Linked DNA regions of Homo sapiens: regions 2 and 3 are each linked to region 1. Evidence: promoter capture Hi-C in 16 types of primary human blood cells and fetal thymus (Javierre and others, 2016). All regions are on one chromosome and are shown on one strand. Each heading gives the region's core, a stretch centred on a gene start or on the middle of the fragment in contact. The rest is flanking DNA. Distances are from core to core; before and after follow the strand shown.

Region 1 (4,437 bases), core at 1,330-3,829:
ATTTTAAAAATATTAAATAAGAATATTACAAAAATACAATATTAAGTAATACAACTATTTACATAGGATTAACATTATGCTAGGTAATATAAGTAATCTAGAAATGATTTAAAGTATAGGCGACCTGGGCACAGTGGCTCACACTGCTTAATCCCAGCACTTTGGAAGGCTGAGGCAGAAGGATTGTTTGAGGCCAGGAGTTTGAGGCTGCAGTGAGTTATAATCACACCACTGTAGTTCAACCTCGGCAACAGAGCAAGGCTCTCTCTAAAAAAGAAATTAATCATTTAATATTAAAATTAAAAATTAATTACTTGATTTTTAAATTGTAAATAAATTACTTAATTTTTAAATTAAAAATAAATTAGCTAGCTGGGCATGGTGGCTCATGCCTGTAATCCCAGCACTTTGGGAGGCTGAGGCGGGCAGATTACCTGAGGTCAGGAGTTCAAGGCCCGCCTGGCCAACATGGTGAAACTCTGTCTCTACTAAAAATACAAAAATGAGCCAGGCACAGTAGCAGGCGCCTGTAATCCCAGCTATTCAGGAGGCTGAGGCAGGAGAATCGCTTGAGCCCCAGAGGTGGAGGTTGCAGTAAGCCGAAATTGAGCCACTGCACTCTAGACTGGGCGACAGAGCAAGACTCTGTCTCAATAAATAAATAAATAAATAAATAAATAAATAAGTTTTTAAATTTTTAATTAAATTTAATTTTTTTTAAAAAAAGACTTAGTATTGGATAGACCAGTAGGGTGACTATAGTTCAAAATAATCCATTGTATATTTCAAAATACCTAGAAGAGAACAATTGGAATGGTTGGAGCATAAAGATAAGACAAATATTTAAGGTGATGGATATCTAAAGTAACAAATCCTTGCAGATTATACAAATGTATTACACTATCACATGCATCCTGAAACAATGTACATCTCTTATGCATTGATACAAAAATTTAAAAAAAGCCAGGTGTGGTGGCATGCACCTGCAGTCTCAGCTACTCGTCAGGCTGAGTCCAGAGGATCGCTTTAGCCCAGGAATTCGAGGCAGCAGTGAGCTGTGATCACACCACTGCACTCCAGCCTGGGCAACAAAGTGAGAGACTGTCTCAAAAATCAATTAGTCAGTCAATCAATCCAAAAAGAACTCAAGTCCACGTGGTCCGATTCCAAAACTATCACCCTGAACCATCTGATCTCTGGTCTCATGTATTCAAAGACATTGGTCAGGTGGGGCACAGTGGCTCATGCCTGTAATCCCAGCACTTTGGGAGGCTGAGACGGGCAGATCACCTGAGGTCAGGAGTTCGAGACCATCCTGGCCAATGTGGTGAAACCCCGTCTCTATTAAAAATAGAAAAATTAGCTGGGCTTGGTGGCACGTGCCTGTAATCCCAGCTACTCCGGAGGCTGAAGCAGGAGAATCGCTTGAACCCAGGAGGCGGAGGTTGCAGTGAGCCAAGATTGCGTCACTACACTCCAGTCTGGTCAACAGAGCGAGACTCCATCTCAAAAAACAAACAAACAAACAAAAACAAAAACAAAAACAGAAAACCCCAAAGACATTAGTCAGGCTTTCAAGACTTCTCATTACTTCTTTCTCCCTGACATATCCCAGCAGTGTAAGCCCAAGAAGCTGAGACATCAATGGAAAGATGGTATCCTAGATATTAGTTTCCTCAAAGCCTTCAACATGTCCTTGTTTCTCAGGCTGTAAATGAGTGGGTTCAGCATGGGGGTGACCACGGTATACATCACTGATGCTATTGCACCCTTCCTGGAGGAGTGGGTAGCCCCAGAACTAAGGTACACCCCAAACCCTGTTCCATAAAACAAGGAAACAACGATTAAATGTGACCCGCAGATGGAAAAAGCTTTATACTTTCCACCAGCTGATGGAATTTTCATGACAGAGGAGACAATTCGTGTGTAAGAGAAAATGATCCCAGAGAGAGGAACAACACCTAACAGGCTGGTCACCAAATACACCAGGATGTTATTGATGAGGACATCAGAACAGGCGAGCTTGAGAATATGAGCTAGTTCACAGAAAAAGTGGGGAATTTCCAGGTCTATGCAGAAGGTCAGCTGTAGCACCATCAACGTGTGCAGCAGAGCATCCAGGACACTAACGATGAAGGACAGCAGAAGCAGCAGCCCACAGAGTTTGGGGTTCATGATGACATTGTACCTCAGTGGGTGACAGATGGCCACAAATCGATCATAGGCCATCATGACCAGAATTCCATTTTCCAATCCAACAAAAACCAGGACAAAGCAGATTTGGGTGAGGCAGCCTGTGTAATTGATGGATTGAGCCTGTGCCTGGATGTTCACCAGCATCTTGGGCATCGTGGTGGAGGTGAAACAGATGTCGACCAAGGACAGGATAGAGAGGAGGAAGTACATGGGGGTGTGGAGGTGGGAGTCAGAGTTGACGGCCAGGATGATGAGCAGGTTCCCCAGCATTGTGGCCAGGTACATGGACAGGAACAGCATGAAGAGGATGGGCTGCAGCTCCGGATCCCCTGACAATCCCAAGAGAAAGAATTCTGGAGTGTCTGAGAAGTTTCCTGCTTTCATGTTGTTGATGAGTCTTGATCTTGTCAATATTATCAAAACCAAACCAGTTATAAGTTATAGACCTTTTTTCCTTCCTTCCTTCCTTCTTTCTTTCTTTCTTCCTTCCTTCCTTCCTTTCTTTTTCTTTCTTTCTTTCTTTCTTTCTTTCTCTCTCTCCCTCTCTCTCTTTCTCTTTCTCTCTCTTTCTTTCTTTCTCTCTCTCCCTCCGTCTTTCTTTCTTTCTCTTTCTTTCTTTCTTCTTACTTTCTTTTTCTTTCCCTCCCTCCCTCTCTCCCTCCTCTTTCTTTTTCTCTTTCTCTTTCTTTCTTTTCTCTTTCCTTCTTTCTTTCTTTCTCCTTTTTCTTTCTTTCTTCCTTTCCTTTCTTTCTCTTTCTTTCTCTCTCTCCCTCCCTCCTTCCCTCCCTCTCTCCCTCCTCTTTTTCTCCTTCCTTCCTTCCCTCCTTCCCCCCTCTCTTTCTTTCTCTCTCTTTTCCTTCCTTCCTTCCTTTCTCTCTCTCTCTCTCTTTCTTTCCTTCCTTCCTTCCTTCCTCCCTTCCTTCCCTCCTTCTTTCTTTCCTTCTTTCTTCTTTGCAGGGTCTCTCTCTCTCTGTCATCCATGCTGGAGTGCAGTGGCATGATCATAGCTCACTGTAGCCTCATCCCCCTGGGCTCAAGCAATCCTCCTCTCTCAGCCTCCCAAATAGCTGGGATGACAGGCATGAACCCCCATGCCCAGCCTGTTCTTTACTTCCTTCCTAGGTACCCTATCAGTGTCTTTCTCACCCACCAATTTCCCTTTCTCATTACAGTTTGTGAAAATAAAAATTAAGCCCTCTTTATCTAGCAGCATAAGCCCCTCCCACTATTTTTATTTGCCTTCATCTGTCTTTCATTTGTATCACAGATAATGTTAATAAAGAAAATTTTAACAGTAAGCCATGCATCAGACCCTCTTTCCATTATTTTTTTCTTTTCTTTTTTTTTTTGAGATGGAGTCTCGCTCTGCTACCCAGGCTGGAGTGCAGTGGTGGGATCTCAGCTCACTGCAACCTCTTCCTCCAGGGTTTGAGTGATCCTCCTGCCTCAGCCTCCCAAGTAGCTGGAACTACAGGTGTGTGCCAACACACCTGGCTGATTTTTATACTTTTAACAGAGATAGGGTTTCACCATGTTGGCCAGGCTGGTCTTGAACTCCTGACTTGAAGTGATCCACCCGCCTCAGCCTCCTAAAGTGCTGGGATTACAGGCTTGAGCCACTGCACCCACTCTTCCTATTATTACTGGTGCAGCCCCTGGTTCAGGCAACCCCTGAGCCTTGGCACTGATTCCTGGAGGAGTCCTGTGTGAGTCAGCGCCAAACCTTTCCTGTTCCTTCTGGCTTATCCAGATTCTTGAGAAATTGATTCTGGGGCCCCCAAAGCAGGAAGTAAAGAATTGATGTATGCCGGCAATGTCAAAACATCAGCCTGCTGTTCTCATAAACCCATAAGTTAAGGAAATTCTGTAATGATGACTCAGGAGTTGGGGCAAACATATTATAGAATCACAGCATGTGAACAGTTGAATGGTGCAGTGAGCCCATCTCAGCCCTTTGCTTCACAAATTGAGTTCCTGGCCAGACACAGCGGCTCACACCTATAATCCCAGCACTTTGGGAGGCTGAGGCAGAAGGGTCGCTTGAGGCCAGGAGTTTGAGACCAGCCTGAACAAAGTAGCAAGACCCATCTATAGTAAACATTTTTTAAAAATTAAATTAAATTAAAAATTAGCCAGGCACGGTGGTACGTGTCTGTAGTCCCAGCAACTTGGGAGGCTGAGTTGGGAGGATCACTTGAACCCAGGAGTTGGAAGCTGCAGTGAGCTTTCATAGGGTCACTG
Region 2 (4,437 bases), core at 559-3,058, 440 kb after region 1:
AATCTTACCATTTGTATGCCGTTTGATGTTTTGTTAAGCCAAAAAAAAATGTTGTTGAGGTGCTGACACTTTGGTTTTAACTTGCCATTCTGAAGTAAAACAGAAAAAAAGAAAAAAAAATAGGGTCTGAGAACAAAACAGTAGGTTAAATAAGTCAGAATTATAAAGCTCATTTTTATTTGTCATATTCAGCACACTCAAAAAAATTAAACAGACATAGATTTGAACAGTTTATCCATGACGAACATTTGGCAATCGTAAGGACTTGGGGTCTAAACTTAGTAATTTTTTTTTTTTTTGAGACAGAGTCTCGCTCTGTCACCCAGACTGGAGTGCTGGAGTGCAGTGGCATGATCTCGGCTCACTGCAACCTCCACCTCCTGGGTTCAAGCGATTCTCCTGCCTCAGCCTCCGAGTAGCTTGGATTACAGGTGCCCACCACCAGGCCCGGCTAATTTTTGTATTTTTAGTAGAGACGGGGTTTCTCCATGTTGGCCAGGCTGGTCTCAACTCCTGACCTCAAAAGATCCACCCGCCTCAGCCTCCCAAAGTGCTGGGATTACAGGCATAAGCCACCATGCCCAGCAATTTAGTAATTTTTTAAACAATTTATTCTATAGAAATTAAATGAGATAATGAACAGAAATAGTATTAGGGAAGGAAAATAGAAATGATCTGGATAAAGAGCACACATTAAAGTCATAAACAAAAAGATAAAAGAGCACTCATTTGCAAAATCACATGAAAGTCTGGGTTAGATGAAAAAGAGAGGAATATGGAAAGTTGAAGATACCCTAAAACTTCCAAGTCCAATGGCCCCATGTTCTGTGACAAAGTACATCTTTTAAATATATCTTCATTATGCTTCCAAACATACTGAACTTCTCATTGACCAGGAGTGTTCTTCATACTCACCTTGGGGAACTCCGGTTGGCAATGTGCTCAACTTTTCCTTCTCCTCCTCCAGTCAAGAGACAGACTGAGTTTGAATAGGTCCTGTACAGAGGGAAAGATACATCAATGGAAGAGGCTTATGAAGGAAATGACAAACGTAACCAAGAAAAAAACAACTATATTCCTAAAGAGAGTAGTGAAACTATTTTAAAAGAGCTCAAATTTCATATATCTCATCCTTTTGTGCCCTGAGGAGTTGGTTATCTCTGACCAAATACCCACTATTCAGACTTAAATACACATTTAAAAACCATTAAAGACTGGGCGCAGTGGCTCATGCCTGTAATCCCAGAACTTTGGGAGGCTGAGGTGGGAGAATCACCTGAGCCTGGGGAGGTTGAGGCTGCAGTGAGTCATGATTGCACCACTGTACTCCAACCTAGGTGACAAAGTGAGACCCTGTCTTAAAAAAAATAAAATAAAAACCATTAAAACGTGTATTCAAATAGGAAATAATCCAAGTGCAAAGAGAGATCATTATTTTGTTTTCTGGTTTTGTTTTTTTTTTTGAGACAGAGTCTCACTCTGTCACCCAGGCTGGAGTGCAATGGCACTGTCTCAACTCACTGCAACCTCCACCTCCCAGGTTCAAGTGATTCTCCTGCCTCAGCCTCGTGAGCAGCTGGGGTTACAGGCACCCACCATCAGGTCTGGCTAATTTTTTTGTATTTTTATAGAGACAGGGTTTCACCACATTGGCCAGGCTTGTCTTGAACTCCCGACCTCAGGTGATCCGCCCACCTCAGCCTCCCAAAGTGCTGGGATTGCAGGTGTGAGCCACCACGCCTGGCCGAGATCTTTTTTTTTTTTTTTTTTTTTACGATATCGTCAAAAGCTCGAATATTGTGTCTTTTGTAGCTTTTCTTATATCATGGGTAGTATTACATCTCTCTCTCTCTCTCTTTTTTTTCTTTTTGAGAGATTTTTGCTCTGTCCCCCAGGCTGGAGTGTAGTGGCACAATCTTCGCTCACTACAACCTCTGCCGCCGCCCACCCTAGTTCAAGCAATACAAAAATTAGCAGGGCGTGGTGGCACGTGCCTGTAGTCCCAACCACTCAGGAGGCTGAGGCAGGAGAATCGCTTTTACTCAGGAAGCAGAGGCTGCAGTGAGCCGAGATCATGCCACTGCACTCCAGGCTGGGCAACAGAGCAAGATTCCATCCAAAAACAAAAGAATCAGAGAGCTTCTTTAGGACACCCCTGAAATAAAGTTATTTCTTATGTTCTCAGGGCTGAAATTGTTATAATTAATGAGGCTCATATGCCAGAGCTTCCCTGGCATAATGTGAAGGAGGGAATCCTAGAGAGACAGGAGTGTTGCACTGGATTTACTATGTGTCATCTGTATAGCCCACTCCCCCGCCCTTTGTTGACAGAGCAGAAGACACTCTCTTCACAAAGGTTATTAAGAGAGTAGTGGCGGGAGTGTCGTAATCCTTGAAAAGCTCTGTTGGTATTCTCCTTCATAGGACAGGTATGACTGCAAAGAATACCATCACTGAGATGAGTTCCCTGGGTTTTTTTGTTTGTTTGTTTGTTTTTGAGACGGAGTTTTGCTCTTGTTGCCCAGGATGGAGTGCAATGACGCAGTCTAGGCTCACTGCAACCTCCGCCTCCTGGGTTAAAGCGATTCTCCTGCCTGAGCCTCCCAAGTAGCTGGGATTACAGGCACCTGCCACCACACTTGGCTAATTTTTTGCGAGGGGGGGGGGTATTTTTAGTACAGACGGGGTTTAACCATATTGGCCAGGATGGTCTAGAACTCCTGGCCTCAGGTGATCTGCCCGCCTCAGCCTCCCAAAGTGCTGGGATTACAGGCGTGAGCCACCGCACCCAGCCGAGTTCCCTGCTTTCAATCGAGATGAAGGGGACCCAGAATAGCAGAAATCAAGAAGGTAGTATTTAATCACCAAACACAAGGTGAGAAAATCAACTATCAAGGACAGTGGAAATGTACCAGTAATCAGAATGCCCTGACCTACAGAGATCTGTGGTGGTGGCTAACTGATCGTGCTGTCCCTAGAAATGAAATAGATAAGCAGTTAACAAAGCCTACTCTAAAGAGCCACAAAATATATGTTAGGCATTATGGGCCACATGGTCTCTGTTGCAGCTACTCAACTCTGCTGTTGTAGCATGGAAAATACCATAGAAAATGTAAACAAATGAACACGGTTGTGTTCTGATTAAACTTTATATACAAAAAACACATGGAGAGACAGATATGGCCCATGGGCCATAGTGTACCAATCTCTGTACTTGAATACTGCTCCATCTATGTAAAAAGTCTAAACTATAGTAGCCAAAAACTGGATTTATCCCAGTGGAGAATCATAACCTGTCACTCAATTACCACACTGAAATCATTCATAAATCATGAACTTAGGTGATCACTCCAATTACCGCCATTTTTCAAAATGTAATGCCTTTACTAGATAAATCAACATAATTTCTGTCACTTGGTATGCAGGCATTGACATAGCTAATGTCTTTTCTCCATACCAATTTGAAAAAAACAAGACTTGGTTACCTTTCACCTGGCAGGACCAACAATGTATCTTCATAACATTGCCCCTAGAATGTGTCAGTTCTCGAGGTCTCTGTCGTAACTTAATCCCCAGAGAAAATGACATTCCATGAAACACCACACTAGTACACTATGTTGACACCATTATACTGATCATATCCAATGAATAGGAAGTAGAAAACACATTTTTAAAAATTAGAGACAGGGTCTTACTCTGTCACCCAGGCTGGATTAGAGTGGCATGATCATAGCTCACTACAACTTCAAACTTCAAACTCCCGGGCTCAAGCAATCCTCCTGCCTCAGCCTCCCGAGTATGTGGGACTATAGGCACATACTACCATGCCTGGCTAATTGTTTTTCTTTTTCTTTTTACTATAGACATGAGGTTTCACTACGTTGCCCAGGCTAGTCTCAAACACCTGGTCTCAAGCAATCCTCCCACGTCAGCCTCCCAGTGTTAGGATTACGGGCATGAATCATTGTGCCCTGCCTGAAAATACCTTAGACAACTTTATTAGAAGCATGCAGCATTTACGGTTCCAAAATGGTAGTACAGAAGCAAGCTGGTTTCAATCCCCTGACAGAAAACTACAACCAAATGCATATTGTGAAAATTATCACCAGCAATATCCCTGATCTAAAATATAAAAATTAGGCAGTTTCTGGGGCTACAAAGAAGTGAAAAAACTCCAAGGGAGACGTTAAGAGAATCAAGTTTCCAAGAATGTGGAAAATTTCTACCAATTCACAGTTTCTACACTGGAAAAAACTGAGATCAATGTGGACAACCACCTTCTCCATCATCCTGGGTTCCCTGGTAAAAGATCAGTCCCTCCCTGTCTCAACCCACAGGAAGCATTACAAATGCCTGAAGGGAGAAACATCCCTGAGGACATCCAGGGACAAAGATGGGAGGCAGGACTACCATCCCAGCCCTGGAAACTCTGTTTTA
Region 3 (4,437 bases), core at 455-2,954, 410 kb after region 1:
TAACCAACACGGTGAAACTCCATCTCTACTAAAAATACAAAAATTAGCCGGGCGTGGTGTGCGGCTGTAATCCCAGCTACTCAGGAGGCTGAGGCAGGAGAATCGCTTGATCCTGGGAAATGGAAGTTGCAGGGAGCTGAGATCACACCACTGCACTCCAGCCTAGGTGACAGAGCAAGACTCTGTCTCAAAAAAAAAATAATAATAATAATAATGACAATCATTAATTAATCAAACATGAAACAGTGGCTCAAACAATCACCTACAGAATGGGAGTCAAATGATGATAAACAGTGAAAGTTCCGCAGTTCATTATCCATGAACCAAATTCACAAAAACTCTATAGGCCTCCTTCTACCAATAAGACTAAAACCCTAAAGTCACAAAAACCACAGTTCTGGACTCCTGGTATAGATCACACCTACTCCCAGGGGTCTCAAACTAGGGGTCCTAGGGCTGACTAGGCCCACAAATATTCAGTTTGGTGGCATCTGTATAGAATATTTAACTCTTTTTTTTTTTTTTTTTTTGGAGAGATGGAGTCTTGCTATGTTGCCCAGGCTGGTCTTAAACTCCTGGGCTCAAGAGATCTTCCTGCCTCAGCCTCTCAAAGTGCTGGGATCACAGGTGTGAGCCACTGTACCCAGCCAGCTTTTTTTTTTTTTCATTGATATACAATCAATGTAGCTTAAAATGCACACATCCTTCGTTTCTCTTTTTTTTCTTTTGAGACGGAGGCTCACTCTGTCTCCCAGGCTGGAGTGCAGTGGCACGATCTCAGCTCACTGCAACGTCCGCCTCCTGGGTTCAAGTGATTCTCCTGCCTTAGTCTCCCAAATAGCTGAGATTCCAAGACCCCACCACCACGCTCGGCTAATTTTTTTTCTATTTTTAGTAGAGACGGGGTTTCACCATCTTAGCCAGGCTGGTTTCAAACTCCTTAATCCAACCATCCTGTTCATTGTAAATTTGATTATTGTGATACTAGAATAATAAAGCCTTCATCCTTTCCCTCTGGAGGTCTGATTAAGAAGCTCTCTTGGGATGTACAGGCCTAGGAACTCCATTCGAAGATAATGAATTATTATTCTTAGTATTCTTTAGCAGAAAGACTTGCGGTCTACAAACGTTTATATTCACATACACAAATACGCACACCCTATAAACCTAAAAAGCATCTTTATCTTTCGCCATGAAAGTAATGGTCAAAAATAAAACACAACACAATAAGACGAAACCAAACTTACAGATGAAACATTCGTTTGCATAAGAGAAGACAGAAAAGGCCCCCTAGAACCAACTTTCACCCAGTGCTCACCGGAACACTCAGAAATCGCCAGGTCCCTGAACCGGGAAGATCCTGGGGACGGAGCCAACGCGGATGCAAAAGGCAGCAATTATTTTCCTGCCGGAAAAAAATTCACAAACGCTGCTTTGGAGGCCTTTGGAGAGGGGCGCACAGATGAAAACACCCTGCGGACACCGTAACTATAAACCCGACTCCTCCCGAGGAGCGACGGTCCGAGCGGACGCTAGCGGGCCCAGCAGACACGAGCAGAGCGGGCCAGGCCTCTCTAACGTCCGGGCCAAACCCGTCCTTCACCCCAAAACCAGTTCATCTCCTCGGAACTCACCCAGGCCAGTGAGGCCTTAACTCTGAAAGGCAAAAAGACTCTCAGGCGCTCACAGCCGGCGTCACAAAAGGAACGGCGCACCGCTGACGTCATTTACGCTCTCCGCCTCGGGCCAGGCGGGGTTTCGGGACTAGGGTTTCTGCCGTGTAATACCTCCTCGAGGCAGAAAAATTCTACTTTCCATCTGCTTGGCTGCGGAGGACCTTGGGGTGGGCTCAGCGTGGGGGCTGCAGGCAGAAATGGGTCCAGAAGGCAAGGTCGAGGTTAGAGCCAAGCCTGTGGGCAGGGCTACGGGCAGGGGGCGGGGAGGAATGTGGGTCCAGGCCCAGAGGAAAAGGTTGAAGTTATAGCCAGGCCTGTGGGCGAGGCCGCAGCAGGGCGGCCATAGGGGAAGGAGCCAATGTGTTATGCATGTAGAAAATAGGTAACTACGTCTTTTGCTCTGTTACTATTTCAACATTTGATGTAAAAAACATTTTCTATGCAGCTAAAAGAATTGTTTTTAAAAATAATTTCTAGGTTTTCTGCCTTGCTTTAAAACATCTTTTCTTTTTTTTTGAGACAAAATCTCACTCTGTCACCAAGGCTGGAGTTCAGTGGAGCCATCTCAGCTCACTGCAACCTCCACCTCCCAGGTTCAAGCGATTCTCCTGCCTCATCCTCCCAAGTAGCTGGAATTACAGGTGCATGCTGCCACACCCTGCTAATTTTTGTATTTTTAGTAGAGGCAGGGTTTTGCCATGCTGGCCAGGCTGGTCTTGAACTACTTGTCAGGCCTCTGAGCCCAAGTTAAATCATCATAAACCCTGTCACCTGCACGTATACATCCAGATGGCCTGGAGCAACTGAAGAACCACAAAAGAAGTGAAACAGCCAGTTCCTGCCTTAACTGATGACGTTCCACCATTGTGATTTGTTGCTGCCCCACCCCAACTGATCTCTTGACCTTGTGACATTCTTCTTCTGGACGAGTCTCAGGAGTTCCCCACCGAGCACCTTGTGACCCCCGGCCCTGCCAGCAAAAGATAACCACCTTTAACTTTCCACTACCTACCCAAATCCTATAAAACTGCCCCACCCCTATCTCCCTTTGCTGACCCCTTTCTCGGACTCAGCCCACTTGCACCCAAGTGAATAAACAGCCTTGTTGCTAACACAAAGCCTATTGGTGGTCTCTTCACATGGATGTGTGTAACATTTGGTTCCGAAACCTGGGACAGGGGGACTCCCTTGGGAGACTGGCCCCGTCCTCACCCTCACTCCGTGAGGAGCTCCACCTACTACCTCGGGTCCTCAGACTAGCCCAAGGAACATCTCACCAATTTCAAATTGGGTAAGCAGTCTCTTCACTCTCTTCTCCAGCCTCTCTCACTACCCTTCCATCTCTCTGTCCTTCCAATTCCAGTTCTTTTTCCTCTCCAGTAGAGACAAAGGAGACACATTTTATCTGTGGACCCAAAACTCCAGCTCCAGTCACGGACTCAGGAAGACAGTCTTTCCTTGGTGGCTAATCACTGTAGGGATACCTGCCTGATTATTCACCTACATTCCATTGGTGTCTGATCACTGTGGGGATGCCTGCCTTGATCATTCACCCACATTCCCTTGGTGGCAAGTCAATTGCAGGGCTGCCTGCTTTGGCTGCTTACCCACATTACAGCCCAGGGCTGCTCACCCCCACCCCACTCCACTGCCTTCTCCATGTCTCTACCTTTCTCTTTAAACTTACCTCCTTCACTATGGGCAATCTTCTGCCCTCCATTCCCTGTTCTTCTCCCTTAGCCTGTGTTCTCAAGAACTTAAAACCTATTCAACTCACACCTGACCTAAAACCTAAATACCTTATTTTCTTCTGCAACACCACTTGGCCCCAGTACAAACTTGACAATGGTTCTAAATGGCCAGAAAATGGCACTTTTGATTTCTCCATCCTACAAGATCTAGATAATTTTTGTCATAAAATGGGCAAATGGTCTGAGATGCCTGACATCCAGGCATTCTTTACACATTGGTCCGTCCCTAGTCTTTGCTCCCAATGTGACTCATCCCAAATCTTTCTTGTTTCTTTCTTGTCCTTTGAATCCTCCTTTTCTATGGACCCATCTGACCTCTCCCCTCCCCCTCAGGCTGCTCCTCGCCAAGCTGAGCCAGGTCCTAACGTATCCAGAATTGGTGGGTTCTTGGTCTCACTGACTTCAAGAATGAAGCCGTGGACCCTCGCGGTGAGTGTTACAGTTCTTAAAGGCGGCGTGTCTGGAGTTTGTTCCTTCTGATGTTCGGATGTGTTCAGAGTTTCTTCCTTCTGGTGGGTTTGTGGTCTCGCTGGCTCAGGAGTGAAGCTACAGACCTTTGCGGTGAGTGTTACAGCTCTTAAAGGCAGCATGGACCCAAAGAGTAAGCAGTAGCAAGATTTATTGCAAAGAGCAAAAGAACAAAGCTTCCACAGCGTGGAAGGGGACCCAAGGGGGTTGCCACTGCTGGCTCAGTAGCCTGCTTTTATTCTCTTATCTGGCCCTACCCACATCCTGCTGATTGGTAGAGCCGAGTGGTCTGTTTTGACAGGGTGCTGATTGGTGTGTTTACAAACCTTGAGCTAGATACAGAGTGCCAATTGGTGTTTCCACAATCCCTGAGCTAGACATAAAGGTTCTCCACATCCCCACCAGACTCAGGAGCCCAGCTGGCTTCACCCAGTGGATCCCGCACTGGGGCTGCAGGTGGAGCTGCCTGCCAGTCCCGCGCCATGTGCCCGCACTCCTCAGCCCTTGGGTGGTTGATGGGACTGGGCACCATGGAGCAGGGG

Evidence for each region. Contacts are between HindIII fragments. The CHiCAGO score rates a contact against its expected background, and 5 or more counts as called.
Region 2: a contact is called between a fragment that was not itself captured here and the fragment with the promoter of OR7G3 in region 1, in 2 of 17 cell types (total CD8 T cells and naive B cells). The highest score is 5.2, in total CD8 T cells.
Region 3: the fragment with the promoter of ZNF426 here is called in contact with the fragment with the promoter of OR7G3 in region 1 in 4 of 17 cell types (non-activated CD4 T cells, total CD4 T cells, total B cells and 1 more); the score reaches 7.6 in non-activated CD4 T cells.

The regions. Positions count from the first base shown.
Region 1 is chr19:9,124,371-9,128,807 of GRCh38, forward strand. OR7G3 (olfactory receptor family 7 subfamily G member 3) reads right to left here and starts at 2,580. Exons shown (of 1, transcript NM_001001958.1): 1 at 1,642-2,580. The coding sequence starts at 2,580. The coding sequence ends at 1,642. The HindIII fragment of the contact is 3,002 bases long and covers 1,870-4,437 here.
Region 2 is chr19:9,568,087-9,572,523 of GRCh38, forward strand. It overlaps ZNF121 (zinc finger protein 121), which reads right to left. Exons shown (of 4, transcript NM_001008727.5): 2 at 916-996; 3 at 9-89. The coding sequence starts at 11. Among named protein-coding and RNA genes, the nearest start is that of ZNF121, 14 kb to the right of the region's middle. The HindIII fragment of the contact is 7,355 bases long and covers 1-4,437 here.
Region 3 is chr19:9,536,941-9,541,377 of GRCh38, forward strand. It overlaps ZNF426 (zinc finger protein 426), which reads right to left and starts at 1,705. Exons shown (of 8, transcript NM_024106.3): 1 at 1,635-1,705; 2 at 1,319-1,405. It overlaps ZNF426-DT (ZNF426 divergent transcript), which reads left to right and starts at 1,726. Exons shown (of 2, transcript NR_134921.1): 1 at 1,726-2,058; 2 at 2,466-2,790. RefSeq lists enhancers at 1,011-1,746, 1,753-1,802, 2,003-2,072, 2,727-3,926. The HindIII fragment of the contact is 12,585 bases long and covers 1-4,069 here.